Linked DNA regions of Homo sapiens: all the other regions are linked to region 2. The links are contacts of gene promoters, found by promoter capture Hi-C in blood cells and fetal thymus (Javierre and others, 2016). All regions are on one chromosome and are shown on one strand. The core of a region is centred on a gene start or on the middle of the fragment in contact, and the rest is flanking DNA. Distances in the headings are between cores, read along the strand shown. Region 1 overlaps LRRK1-AS1 (LRRK1 antisense RNA 1). Region 2 holds the start of TM2D3 (TM2 domain containing 3). Region 3 overlaps LRRK1 (leucine rich repeat kinase 1).

Region 1 (5,034 bases), core at 1,582-4,081, 530 kb before region 2:
GAATCATCTTTTCAAAAAATGGTGCTGAAACAAAAGGATGGATTTGGACTACTGTCTCACACGACATTAAAAAATTTACTCAAAATGGATCAAAGACTTAAATGTAAGAGCTAAAACTTAAAAACATCTCAGAAGCAAACAGACGTCAATCTCCTTGACCTTGGATTAGGCAATGGTTTCTTTAGATTAGATACCATCAGCAACAAAAGAAAGCAAACCACCAAGAAAGTGAAAGAACGATACAAATAATGAGACAAAATACTTGGAAATAATGTATCTGATGAAGACTTCCTTCTAGGATGTATAAAGAATTCTTAAAACTCAGTAATAAAAAGACAAAATAACCCAATTCAAAAATGACTGAAGGAATTGAATAGACATTTCTCCAAAGAAGACATACAAAAATGGCCAATAATCACATCAAAAGTCATTGGAAAGGCAAATCAAAACCACAGAGGCTGGGTGCAGTGATTCATGCCTGTAATCCCAGCACTTTGGGAGGCCAAGGCGGGCAGATCACTTGAGGTCAGGAGTTCGAGACCAGCCTGGCCAACATGGCGAGAGCCCATCTCTACAAAAAAATACAAAAAAATTAGTTGAATGTGGTGGCAGGTGCCTGTAGTCCAAGCTACTCAGGAGGTTGAGGCAGGAGAATCGCTTGAACCTGGGAGTGGGGGGATTGCAATGAGCCAAGATTGCACCACTGCACACCAGCCTGGGTGACAGAGCAGAACTCTGTCTCTGGGAAAAAAAAAAAAAAAAAAAGGAACCGCAGTGAGAGACCATTTCACACCTACTAGAATGACTCTAATTTTTAAAGGGCAGCTAAGCGTTAGTGAGGATGTGGAGAAATTGCTGGGACTGGATATACACTCACAAAAGGACGAATCCCTTGGCGGTTGTTCAAAACGTTAAACATAGTTTCCACATGACCAGCAATTCCACTCGTAGGTCTATGCCCAGGAAAAATGAAAACCTCCATTCACACAAAATCTTCTACATGAATCTTCATGGGAGCATGATTCACAATGGCCAAAAGGTGACAATAACCCAAATGCCTAGCAGCTGACGAATGGAGAAGAAAATCTGGTATAGCCATACAAGGGAATATGATTCAGGAAGGAAAGCAAAAGGAAGGGAATTCTGACATGCTACAATATGGAAGAACCTTGAAAACATTACGCTAAGGGAAAGAAACCAAATGCAGAAGTCACCTATTATATGATTTCACTTCTATTAAATTCTGAGAATAGGCAAATCCATGAAGACATAGACTAGTGGCTGCCCAGGGCTGAGGGAAGTGAAGAGTGACTGCTCGTGGTATGGGGTTTATTTTTCAGGTGACAAAGATATTCTAGAATTAGATAGCAGTGAAAGCTGTACAACCTTGTGAGTACGGTTAAAGGAAAAAGAAAAAGCAAACACTGAATTGTATACTTTAAAACAGTGAATTTTATGGTATATCAATTATATTTCAGTAAATGAGACAAAACATCTGCAAAAGATAAAACTTGGGCAACTACTATATTTTCTCTAATATTTAATTTTCTTGATTTGTTCCTTAGTTTTAAATTAATAATTTAAAAAGAACATGTTTCCAATTTTAAATATATCATTCCAATGTAGTAAAATATTTCATATATGAACTAAAATGTCCCCTCACCTTGCAGTTTGTGCTCTTGTACTGTTTTTTGGGGTTGTTAGTTTGTTTTTGAGACTGAGTCTCACACTGTCACCCAGGCTGGAGTGCAGTGGCGCGATCTCGGCTCACTGCAACCTCTGCCTCCTGAGTTCAAGGGATTCTCCTGCCTCAGACTCCCGAGTAGCTGGGATTACAGGCGGCTGCCACCACGCCCAGCTAATTTTTTGTATTTTTAGTAGAGACAGGGTTTCACCATGTTGGTCTGGCTGGTCTTGAACTCCTGACCTTGTGATCCGCCCACTTCGGCCTTCCAAAGTGCTGGGATTACCGGCAGGCATGAGCCACCGCTCCTGGCCTCTTATACTGTTTTAAATGTTAAACACAAACAAGACTTCAATGGTCACACAGAATACAGAATTGAAGTAACTTAAGTTCCGAATCTTCCTCTTTCCGATCACTGTGCTATTGTTGCTTCGTCAAATCTGCTGTTTAAATGTAGGAATTCACAGCACCCTGGGGCACTGGAGACGTGAATGATGTCCAAAGTGGCTTCAGACGGCTCACAACTTACTTTTGAAAAGCACATTTCTGGACCGACTTTATACCTGGGAGTTCTGAAATTAACTTTCACTTGGAATACAAAGCTTATCAAAGGATAATAAATAAAATCATGTTGATTTGAAGTATATATATATATACATAAACCCTCACAATTGTTTAGAATTTAGATCAACAAAATATTTTCCCTGGCAGGAGTATTTAATCATGCCTGGTAATTAGAAAAACAAACAACAGCAACAAAAACACCAGTCGTCTGACTTAGTAGATTTTATTATTGTGACTTCAGTGACAGTGTGTCACCTCGCTGCCTGAACCCAGGCCCACAGCTCCCACTACCCCGCCCTCACTTTCTATTTCCCTAGCGCTTTGAAGATTCCATTTTACCCACCGCAGGAGAACATTATGAGGCTAGGTAATATAATCCCCATTTGACAGATGAGAAAGCAGGGGGCCCAGAGAGGCTTATCCAAGGGCCAGCAGGAGGGGACAGAGCCTAGAAGCTGGTTCTGCAGGGCTCAGCTCCCACTTCTCAGGGCACAGTCCCGACTAGCCCCTCTTATTAGTGACCGTGGGTGGGTCTACTCCCCACAGTTCCGGCTGCCAGACTTACCCAGGCTGTGCCTCATCCTCGCAGTACCTACCTGCTCTCAGCTTGGAAAGAACCTGGAAATTCATTCACACCCAGGTTCTGAGGGCTGCTAACAGGCTTCTTTCCCAAGAGGTAATTGCCTTTATCAAAGAGGGTGCTCTTTAATGAGCTGAAAGAATGCCTCTGCAAGTCGGGCCTCCTCCCTAGGCTGCTGGGATCACTGGTACACATCTGTTCTCCCCCATCTCACCTCAGGAGTAGTTTGCTCCCCAGGGAGGAGCCCTGCCTGAGAGTAAATCCAAAGAGACGTCCCACAGTTAACTCAGCCTCAAAAGCATTTGGAGTTGCAAACTAAATGACATAGTCTCATGACTTGTGTCTGATTCTGTGGATCTAAGAAAATCCAGTTTCTCCCTAACTAACGCCAGCATCCTACAGCCTAGCCTCTGCCTGGTGAACACAGACAGCCTTGCCGGGGCCTGGCAGAAGGAGTGCTAAGAGGACAGGGCCTCACAGACCCTAGAAGTGGGTCTCACCCTTCTCAGCTCACTCAGATGCTTTGTCTCCAGAGTTCTCAGATTTACAAAGCTTAATGAGTGCCAATTTACTCATTATTGTCCTCCCAGGCCTCACAACGCATTAAAATCCTTCTGCACAGACAGATTAGGAGACAAGCCTAAGGAAAACGTACATCTGCTTTAAAAAAAAAAAAATGCAGTTTCAGGTTCCACTTTACATCAGCCAGGGTTTAGTTACAGGAAACAGAAACCACTCTAACAATTTTAAGCAAAAAGGGGTTTAGACAGGAAATTAGGGGCTTACCGTTTTATTGAGAGGCATGGGCCAGGCCTATTGGCGTGGTGCCCGGAAAAAGGCCTGGGGACCAGCCGGCTGGGCTCTGCTAGCCTGACTCCACTCAGCCAGGTGGGGGTCGGGAGGCTCCCAGTGCTGTACCATACCTGCCTCTTGACCCCACAAAGGGACTGAATGGACCCTGGAACGCTGCCACAGGAAAAACAACCACCACAACTTTGCTCGCCAGCAGAAACGGCCAAAAGCAGCAGGAGGAGAGTCTTGGCCTCTGAATCATAGTGGTGTGCGAAGAATTGGCAGGACTATGGATGTGCTGGAGCTGGCTCAGCCTAGTGACAGCCAACGGTGCACGGCAATTCCAATTCCAGGTCCAGGGACACCAGGGGATAGCAAGATTGAAATTGACCACAGTGGATATATTTACACCATGGAAATCAGCAAGCACTAACAGCCGGGTTGCTTTTGTTTTGTGTTGTTTTTTTGTTTTTTTTTGAGAGCTGGTTGTTAAACATTGACCACCGGGCATAACCCATTTCACATTTAGAACTCTAGCGGCAAGGGAAGCGGGAAAAGCAGTGGCTCACCTTCCAGCCTTTGAAGGAACAGCGAGGAGAGCACACAGAATGCTAGCTGCCAAGCCGTCCTCCATGACACACACTCCTAGGAATGTACCCTGCAGTAAATTTGCACATGTGTGAGGGATGAATGGCTGCTGATGCTGCACTTTGCTAGTAATTACGTGGAAGCAACATTTCTTAACGCAATTGCTCTTGAGCATATGTGAAGTTTATTAACCCTGGAGCTAGGGAATTGGCAAGGGGACAGAAGAGTGGGTTGGTTCAAAGATGGCTTGGAAATTGTTGATTTGTATCTACAGGGGGGAAAGAATGCTTGCATAAGCAGCTAATTAAGAAGAGGCAGCTAATAAGGTCAAGCTTACAGTTTCATTTAACATGATCGTTAAAACGTCATTTCCCTATCGGCTGGAACAAGCGAGGTTTGAGGCACAGTAATCTTGGGGGTGATTTCTAGAGAGGCCAACCTTTCATCCGAAATAATAAGAAACACATCCAAGGTGCACTTCATCTGTGGCTCTTAATTAGACAAAGCTACACGGTTTTGTGCCCCAGCTGAGCTGGACGAGAGCCCGTCAGCTCCAAGGCAGCAAGCATTGTCAAGCAGAGGTCACAGCAAAGCGCCAGGCAAGCAGGGTCTGCACTGGCCTCTGGGCTGCTCAAGCTTCTGGTTCTAAGGGACTGAATGTGCAGGTCGCCCAGCCCTCCGTATTGTTTTTATTTGACAATAGCCAAATATGGCAACAAGTTGCTATGCACTGAATTGTGTCCTCTCTAAATCCATATGTTGAAGCCTGAATCCTGCAGTGTGACAGTATTTGCAGATAGGGCTATTAGGAGGCAATCAGGGTTAG
Region 2 (5,086 bases), core at 2,530-5,029:
GCTTCCAGAGAGAGCTGATTCTACACATAGGCACATTTATGTCACCTACATTTAATGTTCCCCAATACTTTCACTTAATTTTGGACATCTATCAGTACATTACCTCTAGAGCTGCCTAGTTCTTTTTAATGGCTACAAGGTGTTTATTCTATTACACGTGTACCATAAATTAAGCAGTTCTTAGACATTTCACTTCTTTTGAATCTTTTGCTTTAATGAGCAATGCAGCTAAAAAATAAGCACACTTATCTGCATCCATGTATAATGATATCTATAACATAAATTCCTACATGTACAACTACGAGCTCAACGATTGTGTGCATGTGTAAGTTTAACAGATATGGCAAATCGCCTACAAGAGGTTGATCAATTTGATTACCTATTAATAAGATATGAGCATCTGACCCTTATACTCTCACAAACTCAGAGTTAATCAAATTAAAAAAAAATTGCCAATCTAAGGGTTAAAAATGTATTAATTAAATACTATGAGAAAACTTATATGTTTTTCATGTTATATATCTATTTGTATTTCCTTTCCTATGAACCATCTGCTCATGTCCTAACACTGTTTTTCTACAAGACTGTCATCTTTTCCGTGTGGGTTTTAGGAAGTGTTTATATATTACTGATATTACTGTATTATTTGTCACATATTCTAGAAACGCTTTTTCCTAGTTTGCCATGTCTTTTGCCTTTATGCTTTTTTTTTTAGGTCATGCAGAAATCTCCAATTTTTAGGAGTCAAATGTATCAATTCTTTATTTTATGGCTTCTAAACTTTATTTCATACTTAGAAAAATATTCTCCATTTTGGGATTATAACAGCAACTATCTGGTGTTTTCTGTGGTACTTCAGGGTTTCATTTTTCACATTACATCTTTGGACTATCTGGAATTTATTCTGGATAAGACAGGCGTTCCACTTAATTTTGTTCTAGAGAGCTACCAGGCATTCCGGCATTTACTGAATCCATCTTCTCACCACAGATAAGCACTGGCCCTTCAAAAGCTCATCTATGGCAGAAAGACACTGCCACCCCCTCTGTACACTAGCTGTCACTATTGAGAACACAGAATCCATCTGAACGAATTAGACTTGCTTCAGATATGCTAGTAGACTGAGATCTTCTCCAGTCCTACAAAGCAACATTTCTGTCAAGTGCATTTCCAGCAGACATCAACTGGCTTGACAGTTATCATTATAACTAAAACAGTAGTGAGCTGATATGGAAAGGTCTATTGGGTTTTTTAATTTATTTCTGCTTACATACTCAAAAGGGAAATCATAAAAGAATATAAAAATTCTTCAGAATTTCTTCCCAATAATCAAGTCTGAATTGTTCTTCTAACTTAAAGTTTACAATGAATTTATTTAGAATAAGTAAGCTGCAGTACTTACAACACAGGTAACAGATGGTTTCACTGCACAGTCAAAAGTGACAGGCTTCCCATAGGTACAGGAGAAATTTGTTGTGCAGTCTATACAGTCTGCAGGAAGCCTGCTACACAAACCATTGCTCGGACACTTCATCACATAAGGTGGGATTTCAGTACTTTCTGTGAGAGGCAAGAGAGAAGCTTATTCTCCTATAATACTGATTCGAATAACAGAGAACAATCTTCTAAGGTTAAGAGACGTGATCATTAGCAAGTAGACACTGCACTGGAAGGGAAGAAGCATGGGACTGGAGTCAGAGACACCTGCAATTAAAGCAGAATTCTGCCCACGGCCAGCTGTGGGACCTGGTGAGCACCACACTTGTAAAACATTACTTCATTCCTGCCTCCCACGTGGCCGTGAAAACTAAAGGTGCTCATATACAAATAATGTATAGAAAATTCTGGGTATACATTAAGGGCTTAAAAAAAAGACTATCATTTTGTAAGTTGAAAAAAAACTTACAGTAGGGTTTTGCAAAATCACAGAGGAAGTCTGTGGCAAAACTGGAACTAGAACCCAAATCTCTCCATTTCCAATCCCGTGTTCTTTTCATCTGAATTCACTAATTCAGAAATGAAGCCACTGACATCCTCAGGGCATCAACTTTAAAATGTCATTATTTCACACTGGTACTTCGATAAGCCACATTTGCTAATATAATATTTACAGTTTTACGCTACCAAAGTTCAAAACAGTTCTCTACTTTAATAACATCTTCAGTAAGCTGCAACTTATTTCCAACCAACCTAATGAGTGTGCAATGTATTTTTACCAACTGAAAGGATCAAAATTGCAAGTATTCCTGAAAAGAAGGGCTTTCAAAAGCCTGCAAGAGTTAAGAACTCTTGTGCTTTCTCTAAAAAGTAATCTGAGTTTAAAATTCAAGTGCACTGCTGTTTTTTACATCCAAATAAGAATCAGTAAAATATCTCTGCCAGTTTCAATTCACTGAAGTAATGTCACTTTAAAGTGATGAAATTATAGTCAGAGCCTCCACCTAGCAAAACACACTAATGCTTGTTTAAAACTGGTCCTACTTTACTCACTGTATTAAGGAACAATTCTACAAAATACTCTTTTTGATCCCGTGACTATGTGGCTGGAAGGTGGACACTTAGAATCACAAAGCAGAAATGACTTTAGGTCGTCAGACCAACCCCACCGCTTTAAAGATGAGGACCAAGGTCCAAAGAGGATAAATAATTTGTTCAAGATCCCAGTAGCAAAACCAGATCTAGATTTCAAGTCTCCATCAGTCCCGCTGTAATCCTTCCATTTCCACAGTCCTGAGGGAGCCTTTAATATTCCAACATCAGGAACAGGGTTTTAGCAGTAGAGGAAATTTGCTGAAGGGAAAGAAGCACGGACTGAAGGTTATTTTGATGGATGAAGTGGAAAAATAATAGAAATAAGGTGACAAATGAGCGTGGGATTGGAAAAAGAGAGGAGGCAGAAACGTCAAAAGGTATAAATACGAAGACTATCTACTGAAAATGGCTGTGTATCTACCCTTAATTCACATAATCTAAAATACAATAAATATTCAAAAATGGAAAGTGACTTCGTATACTAAAGGGAATTTTTATAAAAACAAAGAGAAACTACTAGAGATAACTACATGTATTTACTAGAATAGAAAACGTCTAGTACCTGCTGCCCTGGGAACTACTGTGAATGTGCGTGTTGGGCCCGGATCCTTTATTGACTGAGCCAGCGCCTGCGATTGCTCTAAATTTAAGGATCGTACAATTAGAGAAACACGTTATCCCGGGACAAGAAAACCTTATTTTGTGTGGTTAACACGGCGGGTCTACACCAGGCCAATAAGCTGCTCATGAAAACCTCACGGCTGGTCAGCCAGAAAACACAAAGCTTAGGGACGAAACGTCAACAGAGTAGACATCAGTTCAGGTCAGCCGGCAACGAGGGACCGAAGGATGACATCGCGCTCCAGTTCCGCCTCCCCGGCCCAGCCCCCAAGCGCTCCATCTCCGTGCCAGGGCTCCGCAGCCGCGATGGCGGGCTCGGTGTCGCCGGAGCGGAGGGGCGGCCTCGGGCCGGGCGGCCAGGGCGCCAGACTCCAGATGCAGCGACAAGCGGCCCGGAGCCCGGCACTCGGCCTCCTCCCCGCGTCAGCGTCCGCCCGTGGGCCCGGCCTCCTCGCAGCTCCCGGGGCCCTGCTGCCACTCAGCCCCACCCGGCGCTGAACCCAGCCTTTGACTCACCACCGCCCGACAGAATGCAGAACTGCGAGAGGAAGAGCAGCACGCGACACAAGGCGCGGAGGCCCCTCAGCGGGAGCACCCCTCCCGCCATCTTGCCAGCGCCTGCGCACTTCCGGGCCGGGGGGCGGGGCGCGCCTGGGAGCCGGAGCGTGAACTGGACGCAGGCGCGCTGCGACTCCTGGCGGCCGGCGTTTGCGCTTTCGCTGTCCTCGCGCGGGTCGCGGGTTTTCTTCCGGTTGAGCCTTCTGGGAGGTCCCCGAGGAGGATGCGAGCCTGGGAGGTTGTTCCATTTCCACGCGCCCCTCACGCCCTTGGACGAGGCCCTCACCCCTGGTTCCACTGCAGGAGACCTGTTAAAGGTCATCCGTGGACCGAAATGCGCGCCCGAAGCAACCAAGAGCAGAGGCGGGCGAACGCGGGAGGCTGGCCGCCCCAGTGTGTGGTCGGATGTTGTGTGCTGGATCTCGTGCGAAGGTTCCGAGGACACTATCGCGTGGCGTTTCATCCTAAAGACACTTATTTACAGTCGGGGAAGCGGCCCCGGGACGACGAGGGCCCGAGGGACCCCTCCCCTGGGGCCGGCGCTCAGGCCTGCCGCGGCTTTCACTTCTGGCCGGCCTCTTGAAGATACGCAGCACTTCCAGAAAGTTCCTCTCAGGCCTGGAGAAGCAGGATGGCCCGAGGCGCTGGGAAGTGAGGGGAGGGTCCAGAGCCCAGCCCTGCCTGGGGAAGGTCGCGGCCGTCTGGGGAGCCGCGCTCAGGCCCCAGCTTGCGGAGACCCTTGCCGGTTTCTGTCACAGCACACCTGGGAGAAAGCGCTGGTGACAGGTGCTCTCCTCCCACCCACGTGCTTCGGGATCGTTCATTCCGCGGTCTTCTGACTACCACCCCCTCACGTGCATGTTTGCTGAATGACTTTTTAAAAAATACATGGAAAAGTGCCGGCACATAAGCCCTGAATGTTAGCTTTAAAAATCGTATCACGGCCGGGGGCGGTGAATCACGTCTGTAATCCCAGCACTTTGGGAGGCCCAGGCGGGCGGATCACGAGGTTAGGAAATCGAAACCATCCTGGCTAACAACACGGTGAAACCCTGTCTCTACTAAAAATACAAAAAAATTAGCCAGGCGTGGAGGCACGCGCCTGTGGTCCCAGCTACTGGGGAAGCTGAGGCAGGAGAATCGCCTAAACCCGGGAAGCGGAGGTTGTAGTGAGCCGAGATCGCGCCACTGCACTCCAGCCTGGGTGACAGAGCGAGACTCCGTCTCAAAAAATAAATAATAAAAATCATATCACACAATCTGCACCTTATACTACTACACAAGCCTGATATATATTGTTTTGTTTGCCAACTGTTTCACTGTTCACATCCCTCAGGAAGTTAACTAAATGATCAGTATATTGAAAAGAGATTAT
Region 3 (4,825 bases), core at 1,167-3,666, 610 kb before region 2:
ACAGTCTGTTGGGGACAGGGCTGTAAAATGGCTCCTTGCAGATTTCTTAAAGAACTAAAAGTAGGTTACCATTTGATCCAGCAATCTCACTACTGGCTATCTACCCAGAGGAAAAGAAGTCATTATACAAAAAAGATACTTGCACACACATGTTTATAACAGCACAATTCCTAATTGCAAAAATATGGAACCATCCCAAATGTGCATCAATCAATAATTGGATTAAAAAAATTGTGGTATATATACACCATAGAATACTACTCAGCCATATAAAGGAATAAAATAATGGCATCTGCAGCAACCTGGATGAATTGGAGACCATTATTGTAAGTGAAGTAACTCAGGAATGGAAAACTAAACATCATATGTTCCAAATTATAATTGGGAGTTAAGCTATGAGAATGCAAAGGCATAAGAATAATACAATGGATTTTGGGGACTCAGGGGAAAGGGTGGGAGGGGATGAGAGATAAAAAACTACACATCAGGTACTGTGTACACTGCTCAGGTGATGGGAGTGCCAAAATCTCAGAAATCACCACTGAAGAACTTTATCACGTAACCAAACACCACCTGCTCCCCAAAGCCCTATTGAAATTAAAAATTAAAATATAAATAAATTGCCTCCTTAGTGTGGCTGCTCAGGTCTCAGAGAGTGTGAGACCTAGAGTGAGCACCCTCCGAGCAGTGCCATTGCACAATCTCCCATCAGTTAGTTTCAGGGCCCACAAAGGGTGAGGGGCTCTCCTGTGCCTTGGATTTCAGGAGTCCAGAGTGGGAATGTCGACCACTGGGGATCTCTCACTTACCTTTCCCCACACTGGGGAGTCTCTCTCAGCTCTCAGCCTAGCAGGCTGCCTTGCTTCCTTGTCCTTCCTTGCCTTAGGTATTTCCTGTCACTTTTCTGTTGAATTCCAGTGTTCCCTCTTGGATGATCTATTCAACGTGTGATTATCTACTCACTATTTTGCCTCTTCTCAGTGTCAGAGGCAAGTCTGAAATGCCTCTAGTCAGCCATCTTGAAGCCGTCCCTCCCAGCAGCATGGCACCCTGCGCCAGTGGCCATCTTGCCTTCTTCTGTGCAAATCTCTCTCTTCCCCCATCTTTTAAGCACACTTGTGGCTGCACTTAAGGTCCACCCAGATAATGTGGGATCTTTCCCCCATTTCAAAGTCCATAACTTAATCACATCTACAAAGTCTCTATTTCCATGTAAGGTAACAATCACAGTTCTAGGGTTTAGGACCTGGATATTTTGGGGCTCATTATTCAGCATATGACACCCTCCAATTTTGTTCTTCTGTTTCAAGATTATTTTGGATTATTCTAGATCCTTTGCATTTTCATCTAAATTTTAGAATCAGCTTGTCTGATTCTTAAAAAACCGTTGTGATTTTTATGGAGATTACATTGAATCTATAGATCAAAGAAAGCTGACATCTTAGAAATATTGAATCTTCCAATATGAACATGGTATATCTCTCATTTATTTTGGTTTTTAAAAAGTTTCTCTCCACGGTGGTTTGTTTTCAGTATTCAGATTTTCTGCATCTTTTGTTAAATTTGTGTCTACATAATTTATGTTCTCCGATATGGGTAAATGACATATCTTCTAATTTGATTTCCATTTCTTGTTGCTGGTATACAGAAATATAATTTATTTTTAAATATTTACCTTATATCAAAAAACCTTGCTAAATTCACCTATTAGCTCCAGTAGATTTTTCAGGATTTTCTAAGTATGCTTCTTTTTTGAAAAAAAGACAGTTTTACTTTTTTCATTCTAATCTTCACATATTTTTTTGCTCTGTTTGCCTGATTGCATTGGCTCGGATCTCTAGCGAAGGTTTAAATAGAAGGGATGAGAGAAGGCGTCATTCTGTGTGATCTCAGGGGGGAAGCATTCAGTCTTTCACCATCAAGTGTGATGTTTTCTGCAGAGCTTTGTTATCCATGGAAACTTTATCAGATTGAGGAAGTTCCCTTTTATTCCCAGTTTGCTAAAAGCTTTTATCATAAATGGGTACTGAATTTTGTCCCCCAAAAATGCTTGTTCTGCCTCTGTTAATTTTTTTCTTCAGTTATTTTTCTGTTAAATATGTTGATGGATTTTCAAATGTTAAACCAACTTTGTATTCCCAAGATTCATACCAAGTGTTCATGATTTATTATCTTTTTTATCTAATGCTAGATTTCAGTGGCTCCTATTTTGCATAAGAATTTTTTAATCTATGTTCATGAGGGATATTGGTTGGTACTTTGATGAAAAGTCTTTATGGGTTATCAGACATAGGCTGTCTTCATAAAATGAATTGAAAAGATTTTTTTCCTTCTCTATTTTCTTCAAGATTTTGTATAAGATTGGTGTTAGACCTTCCTTAACAGTTTGATAGAATTTATAGCCTGGAGTTTACTTCACAAGAGGATTTTTAATTACAAATTCAATCTATTTATTAGCTATAGGGTTATTAAAATTTTCTATTCTTGTGTCAGTTTTGGTAAGTTATTTTTTTTTCAATAAATTTTTTCATTTCATCTATGGTGCAGAATATATTAATATAAAGATATTTAAAATATCTCTGGAATGTGTAGTGATATGCTCTCTCTCCTGATATTAATAATATGTCTTTTCTCTCATTCTTTCTTGATCAGTCTTGCTAAGTGTTTATCAAATTTTTGGAACCGTTTTAAAGAACGAACCGTTGCCATTGCTGATTTCTTCTATTATTTTTCTCTTTTATTTCATCTATTACTGCTCTTTATTATTGTCTTCCTTCAGCTAACTTTGGGTTTAATTTGTGCTTCTTGTTCTTCCTTCTTAAGGTAGAAGCTTAGGTCATTTATTTTAAGCCTTTCCTATTTTCTATGTAAGCATTTAAAGCCATAACTTTCTAAGCACTGCTTTATATGACAAATACAACTAATTTTGCTATGTTGTGTTTTTATCATTTAGTTCGAAAGATTTTCTAATATATCTTATATTATTTTGGTCAGAGAATATATTCTAAGATTTCTGTATTTTGAAATTCACTGAGACTTATTTTATGGGCCAATGTGTGATCTTTCCCAGTGAAAGTCTGGAGTGCACACAAGAAACGAGTTTTCTGTGTTGTGGCTGTAGTATCTTATAAACCTTAATTAGCTCAGAGTGGTAAACAACGTGTTCAAATCTTCCGTATTCTCACTGATTTTTTTCCTACTCATTCTATCAATTACTAAGAGAGAGATGGTAAAATATCTAATGATAAGTCTACCTCTCTCTCCAGTTCTGACAGGCTTTATTTTATATATTTTGAAGCCATTATTGGTTACATATACACATTGGTGTCATGCCTGTGTAATGAAGTGACCCTTTTTTCATTATACAATGTTTCTCTTTATCACTGGTAATACTCCTTTTCTTGAAGTCTATTTTGTCTGATGTTAAAATAGCCACACCAGCTCTTTTAGTTCTACCTGGGTTTTTTCCCTATTCTTCTAGTAGCAGGTTATGATCTCTATAAAAAAGGAATCTCTTGCTGACAGCACATTATCCAATCTGATAATCTCTGCCTTTTAATAGGAATATTTGATTCATTCACATTTATCATAATTAATTATATGGTTGGGTTTAAGCCTACTATTTCTCTATTTATTTTGTATTTATACCATCTGATTTTGTTATTTTGTTCATTCTTTCCTGCCTTCTTTTGAGTTAAATTTTATTTTAGTATTTTCATGCTCTCTGTTGGGTTTTTGGCCATTCTTCCTGGTACTGTGTTTTAGTGGTTACTCTTGGGATTAGAATATGCATCCTTACCTTATCACAATCTACTTGTAATTAATATTATACCACCTTGAATTAAATGCAAAAACCTTAGCACGATACCAGGACATTACTCCTCCCAGCACCCTCTGTACTCTTGCTGTCATCCACGTTTCTTCTATACAGTAGTCCCCCTTATCCACAGCTGGTGGATTTCCAGACCCCCGTGGATGCCTAAAACTGCGATAGTATTGAGCCCTACATATACTATGCCTTTTCCTTTATCTACATACCTATGATGAAGTTTAATTGTAAACCAGTAAGTGATTAACAACACATAGAAATTAACAACAATAACAACAAAACAGTATAATTATGATATACTGTCACAGAAGTTACATAAATGTGGTCTCTCTCTCTCTCTTTCTAAATATCTTGATATTTTTGGACCAGTAATTGAAACCATGAAAAAGAAACTGCAGATAAGGGAGGACTACAATATATGTAATGAACCCCATAATATAGTGTTATTACTTTTGCTTTGAATAATTAAACAATCAATAGTCTTTTAAGAAATTAAGGGAAAAATGTTGATTGTTTCTGGTGCTCTTCACTTCTTTCCATCTGGTATAATCTCTTTTCATCCTGAAGAATTACGTGTAGCATGTCTTAAAGTCTAAGTCTGATGGAAACAAATTCTCTTTTTTAGACAAGACTTTTGTTTATATGAAAATGTCTTTATTAACACTCTAATTTTTTGCTGGATAATTTTCTTCGATGTAGAATTCTGGGTCATTTTTCTGTCAGTCTTTTTAAAGGTGTCACCCCATTGTCTTCTGGGCAGACAGGGGTCCTCCTCAGTCTTCGTCACCCCTGACCCCTCGCTGAGGACCTCTGACCCCATGCCACCTCCTCTCATGTGATCAAGGATGCCCAGCCACCTGCTCTGCTGCAGCCCAGGGGCCTCTGAGAAGCCTACTGCCCCTCCGAGAGCTCTGCCACCATCCTCCTGTGGCTTTTACTGCCCTTACACTCCCCTACTTGTTACCTCTTACCCACCTGCCCGGACCCTCAGTTATG

What was found. Contacts are between HindIII fragments. The CHiCAGO score rates a contact against its expected background, and 5 or more counts as called.
Region 1: a contact is called between a fragment that was not itself captured here and the fragment with the promoter of TM2D3 in region 2, in 1 of 17 cell types (total B cells). The highest score is 5.5, in total B cells.
Region 3: a contact is called between a fragment that was not itself captured here and the fragment with the promoter of TM2D3 in region 2, in 1 of 17 cell types (naive B cells). The highest score is 5.4, in naive B cells.

What each region holds. Positions count from the first base shown.
Region 1 is chr15:101,124,110-101,129,143 of GRCh38, forward strand. All of the region lies in intron 1 of LRRK1-AS1 (LRRK1 antisense RNA 1), which reads right to left. Among named protein-coding and RNA genes, the nearest start is that of LRRK1-AS1, 25 kb to the right of the region's middle. RefSeq lists a silencer at 2,747-2,796 and enhancers at 3,087-3,136, 3,427-3,536, 3,747-3,916. The HindIII fragment of the contact is 1,094 bases long and covers 2,285-3,378 here.
Region 2 is chr15:101,648,602-101,653,687 of GRCh38, forward strand. TM2D3 (TM2 domain containing 3) reads right to left here and starts at 3,780. Exons shown (of 6, transcript NM_078474.3): 1 at 3,670-3,780; 2 at 3,095-3,172; 3 at 1,403-1,560. The coding sequence starts at 3,760. It overlaps TARS3 (threonyl-tRNA synthetase 3), which reads right to left. Exons shown (of 19, transcript NM_152334.3): 19 at 4,995-5,086. RefSeq lists silencers at 3,368-3,927, 4,168-4,357 and enhancers at 4,018-4,077, 4,184-5,074. The HindIII fragment of the contact is 10,431 bases long and covers 3,315-5,086 here.
Region 3 is chr15:101,037,773-101,042,597 of GRCh38, forward strand. The region is part of intron 20 of LRRK1 (leucine rich repeat kinase 1); the gene reads left to right. It also overlaps a transcript of LRRK1-AS1 not described here. Among named protein-coding and RNA genes, the nearest start is that of LRRK1-AS1, 110 kb to the right of the region's middle. The HindIII fragment of the contact is 823 bases long and covers 2,006-2,828 here.